2 separate regions of the Homo sapiens genome follow, and region 2 is linked to region 1. Evidence: promoter capture Hi-C in human tissues and cell types (Jung and others, 2019). All regions are on one chromosome and are shown on one strand. Each heading gives the region's core, a stretch centred on a gene start or on the middle of the fragment in contact. The rest is flanking DNA. Distances are from core to core; before and after follow the strand shown. Region 1 holds the start of LGALS13 (galectin 13). Region 2 has its middle 17 kb from the start of LGALS14.

Evidence for each region. Contacts are between HindIII fragments. The study calls those that stand out against the background at their distance.
Region 2: a fragment that was not itself captured here is called in contact with the fragment with the promoter of LGALS13 in region 1 in 2 of the 25 tissues and cell types used here (mesendoderm cells and neural progenitor cells).

What each region holds. Positions count from the first base shown.
Region 1 is chr19:39,601,207-39,603,906 of GRCh38, reverse strand. It overlaps LGALS13 (galectin 13), which reads right to left and starts at 1,383. Exons shown (of 4, transcript NM_013268.3): 1 at 1,324-1,383. The coding sequence starts at 1,338. The HindIII fragment of the contact is 10,640 bases long and covers 1-2,700 here.
Region 2 is chr19:39,686,482-39,689,181 of GRCh38, reverse strand. No RefSeq gene overlaps it. Among named protein-coding and RNA genes, the nearest start is that of LGALS14, 17 kb to the left of the region's middle. The HindIII fragment of the contact is 8,167 bases long and covers 1-2,700 here.

The DNA.
Region 1 (2,700 bases), core at 134-2,633:
AATGATTGATTTCTATGATGACTACAAGTAGATGAGATGATTTTTCTGTACTTTTGAGATAGGTTCTTGCTCTGTCACCCAGGCTGACATGCAGGGATGCAATCATGGTTCACTGAAACCTCAGACTCCTGGGCTGCAGTGAATCTCACACATCTGCTCCCTCTTGAATAGCTGGGAAGAAAGGTACCTGCCTCTCTGCCAGTCAAATATTTAAAGTTTTTTAAAGAAAGGGTCTCACTCTGATACCCAGACTGGTCTCAAACTTCTGGCCTCGTTATCCTCTCATCTTTGCCTCCAAAATTGGTGGGATTATAGCCATAAGCCAGTGAACCCAGCTGCTTGGTTGATTAATATCCACTGTAAGCTCCTTCTGAACTGAGACTTAACTTGTTCTTTCATGGGTGTAGAACAAGTTTAGTCTCAGTTCAGACAGAGCTTACAGTGGATATTTTGTGTGATTCAGTCTCTGAAATCACGGCCTCTAATGTCCTTCCCTAACAAACCAGTATCTGCACACCCTCCTGTCACACAGTGGGAAGAACTGGATGGGCTAGGGACAGGCAAGCTGAGCCTGGGAGGCAAGAGACAGTGGTCACTCTGTGCAGACCCCACCTGAGGAACCATCACCCCCATAGTCTGCATTCCTCTTCCCCACTCTTACTGGGAAGAGACATCTACTGATCATACATTCTGCTCTCACAAGTGATCTGAAATAAGTCCTTGGTAACTCACAATCCCCAAGATCCCCACCAGTTAAGCCACATGGGATTCACATCAGAGGTGCTGCTGTGTGGGGAGAAACATTCACATGTGAAGAAAGCCACATGCATGATCCCACTTCAACATACAGTCACATCCCAGCACACACACTCACAGTCACACAGAGCCACACCACTCACTGCGTCACACACACCTGCTCACTGTGCACATAACGATGCTCATGCACTGGTCTGGCTGTGCTCACACACATACTCACATCATAGACAGGAAACAAAGCCGACTCACCCCTTTACTCTCCATTCACACACCTGCTCGTCCTGGTGGGTAATCCACCTCCCACTTAAAGTCACATTATCTCCGCAGAGTTTATGCTCATCAGACACCACCTCACACTCACCGAAGGTTACACTGGTCCAGGGTCCACACCGCAATCCCCACAAGCATCTCAGATACCATAGCCTCAGGGTTTCTATTCCACACCTCAATAGCTCTAAGTAAAGCATTCACAGCAAAAATGCTCATATTTTCATCTCATAAAATCTCCCATTTCTTTCTTGGTTTGTGTGACACGAAATTTTTGAAGGCTGTGCCTTTTCAACTCACGGGTAAAGAAGACATTGTTCTCTCCTTCTTGGCGACCTTCAGAATTGAGTCCAGTCTTCTGAGTGAATCTCTGAGTTGCAGCATTTAAATGACCCACTTCAGCCTTGCCCTCGGGCTTCATTCCAGATTCCAAGCTCCTCCCAGCAAGATTTCCTTGCAGCTTTAGACAGGTTTAGTTGTTAGGAAGAAACTCAGTCACAACCATAGCTATTTGCAGGTCTGTATCTGTAATGCAGCAGAAGTGACAGTGGGGGAGTTACCAGGCTGTGGATTGGGTTACCAGGGAAATGCATAGATAAAGATGATGGAGTGAGCGGTAGTGGTTGTAAAGCCCAGCCTTTATGCCTCTCAAGCCTTTTCTCATCTATGCAGAATATACCCAGAAAGTGTACATTTTCCCAATTTGTACAACGGCTGAAAAGAAAAAAGTTGGAGATTTTGGGGAAATACATTAGCCCTAGAAGGTAATGATTCTCTCTGCTTTTGAACGTTCTGGGAGAGCACTGACCTTGATCCTCAGGAGGATCTGTGGAGAGAAGCAGAGAAATTTCTTGCATGAACCTATTCCACACTAGGCTGCTTGGCTCTGCCAGGTAAGGGCCACTCTCACCTGACTGTCACACACCTGGGCTCTAGCTACACCCTCTCCTTTCTCTTGGTGTCCATGTAAATAAAAGTTTCAGAGACACTGTTTCTCCTGCAGATTCTGGGAGGAAGGTGAGATTGTTGTTTTTATTTGATTTTTCTTTCATTTTATTTTAGGTTCGGGGTACATATGCAGATAAAGTCGTGTCATGGGATTTGTGGTGTATATGATTTCTTCACCTGGTTACTAAGTGTAGTACTCAAAAGTTATTTTTTTTCTCCTCTTCCACCTTTCATCCTCCACCCTCAAGGAGGCCCCAGTGTGTGTTGTTTCCCTCTTGATGTCCATGAGCCTCCTCATTTAGTTCACGCTGATAAGTGAGAACATGCAGTATTTGGTTTTCTGTTCCTGCATTAGTTTGCTAAGAATAATGGCCTCCAGTTCCATCCATGTTCCTGCAAAAGACATAATATCATTCTTTTTTAGGACTGCATAGTATTTCATTGTGTACATGTACCACATTTTCTGTAACCGATCTGTCATTGATTGGCATTTGGGTTCATTCTGTGTCTTCGCTATTGTGCATAGTGTTGCAATGAACATTCATGTGCATATGTCTTTATGGCAGAATGATTTCTTTTCTTCTGGGTATACACCCAGTGATGGGATTGCTGGGTTGAATGGTAGATCTATTGTTAGCTCTTTGAGGAATCACCACACTGCTTTCCACAATGGGTGAACTAATTTACACTGTCACCAACAATGTGTGAGTTCTCCCTTTTCTCCACAAC
Region 2 (2,700 bases), core at 141-2,640, 85 kb before region 1:
AGATTTAATGGATTTAGGGCTGTGCAGGATGTGCCTTGTTAACAATTTGTTTGCAGGCAGTATGCCTGGTAAAAGTCATCACCATTCTCCATTCTCGATTAACCAGGGACACAATGCACTGCAGAAGGCCGCAGGGACCTCTGCCCAAGAAAGCCTGGGTATTGTCCAGGTTTCACCCAACTGAGACAGCCTGAGATATGGCCTCATGGGAAGGGAAAGACCTTACAGTCCCCCAGCCTGACACCTGTAAATGGTCTGTGCTGAGGGAGATTAGTGAAAGAGGAAGGCCTCTTTGCAGTTGAGATAAGAGGAAAGCATCTGTCTCCTGCTCGTCGCTGGGAATGCAATGTCTCAGTGTAAAACCTGACCATACATTCTATTTACTAAGATAGGAGAAAACCGCCCTATGGCTGGAGGTGAGACATGCTGGCAGCAATACTGCTCTGCTACTCTTTACTGCTCTGAGATGTTTGTGTAAAGTTAAACATAAATCTGGCCTACGTGCACATCCAGGCACAGCACCTTTCATTAAACTTATTTATGACACAGATTCCTTTGCTCATATGTTTTCCTGCTGATTTGGTAATGGTTTCCCTACCATTACCCTATAGTCCTGCCACATCTCCCTCACCAAGATTGTAGAGATAGTGACCAATAAATACTGAGGGAACTCAGAGACCAGTGCTGGTGCAGGTCTCACTTGCTGAGTGCTGGTCCCCTGGGCCCACTTTTCTTCCTCTATACTTTGTCTCTGTGTCTTATTTCCTTTTCTCAGTCTCTCATCTCCACCTTGCGAGAAATACCCACAGGTGTGAAGGGGCAGGCCCCCTTCAGGTTTGCTAGTGTTTTGTTTAGGATTTTTGCATCAATATTTATTAGAGATATTGGCCTATGGCCTATGGCCTATGGTTTCTCTTCCTTTTTTGGTGGGTTTTTGTGTGGTTTTGATATCAAGATAATGCTGGCCTCTTTTAATGAGTTCAGTAATAGTCCCTCCTCTGTTTTTCTGAATAGTATCGGTAAGATTGGCATTAATTTTTTCTTAAATGTTCAGTAGAATTCAGCAGTGAAGGCATCAGGTCTTGGGCTTTTCTTTATGAGGAGACTTTATTGTGGCTTCTATTTTATTATTTATTATTGGACTGTTCAGGCTTTTAATTTCTTCCAGGTTCAATATCGATAGGTTGTAAGTATCCAGGAATTTGTTCATTTCATCTAGATTTTCCAATTTATTGGTGTATAGTTGCTCAGAGTAGCCACTAATAATTTTTTGAATTTCTGTGGTATCAGTTGTAATGTGTCTTTTTTTCATTTCTGATTTTATTTATCTATATCTTCTCTACTTTTTTCTTAGTCTGGCTAAGGTTTGCTAATTTTGTTTAAATTATCAGAAAAAACACTTTTTATTAATTTCATTTGTATCTGCTCTGATCTTTATTATTTATTTTCTTCTACTAATTTTAAGTTTGGTTTGCTCTTGCTTATCTAATTCTTTAAGATGCATCATTATATTGTTTATTTGAAGCTTTTCTCTTTTTTGATGTGGGGACTTAGAGCTATAAAATTCCGTCTTTATACTGCCCTGGCTGTATCCCATACATTTTGGTATGTTATGTTTTCATTATCATTTGTTTCAAGAAAACTTTTAATTTTCTTCTTAATTTCTTCATTGACCCACTGGTCATTCAGGTACATACTGTTTAATTTCTATGTATTTGGATAGTTTCCAAAACTCCTCTTGCTACCAATTTCTTGTTTTATTCCATTGTGGTCAAAGAAGTGGCTTGATATTATTTCAATTTTTTTTTTTTTTTGAGATGGAGTCTTGCTCTGTTGCCCAGGCTGCAGTGCAGTGGCGCCATCTCTGCTCACTGCAAGCTCCACCTCCCAGGTTCACACCATTCTCCTGCCTCAGCCTCCCGAGTAGCTGGGACTACAGGTGCCCACCACCACGCCCAGGCTAATTTTTTGTATTTTTAGTAGAGACGGGGTTTCACTGTGTTAGCCAGGATGGTCTTGATCTCCTGACCTCGTGATCCACTGGCCTCAGCCTCCCAAAGTGCTGGGATTACATATTTCAATTTTTTTTTAATGTTTCAAGACTGGTTTCATGACAACATATGGTCTATCTTTGAGAATGATCTATGTGCTGAGGACAACAGTGTGTATTCTGCAGCTAAACTGTGCTGGGGAAGAGGTCACCGTGAGACAGGAGACACTTCTCAGTGCCCAGGAAACACTTCCTGTTCTCCGTTCCCGTGACACAACATCTCACACCCACCACCCATACTACTCTTTCTGCTGTCACTACAAAGAGGTACTGAGTGAAGCCTGGACTCTATTCCCAGTTCCTTTTTGTCCACTTGCCTCTGCACATTTAGGTGCTAGGCTGAAGGTGAGCCCCTGATAAGGTCAGTGTCACCTTCTAAAATTCCACAAAAAATGAATTCCATACAGGTGATGAGGCCTATGACCTATTATCAAAATAGAAAAGTGAACAACACTGAGAGCAGAAAGGTGTAAGGAGGAGAGTGGACCTAAACTGAACCCAAGAGTGTCCAGTGAGAGAGGAGGGAATTTCATTCCATATGGGAATGAAACGTGGAAGAAAGGAATGAGGAGTAGCACTGGCTGTGTGTTGGCACCTCAGGTATCTGGGTGTTAGGTTGAATGCGGGTAGGAGAGGAGCATACCCATGAG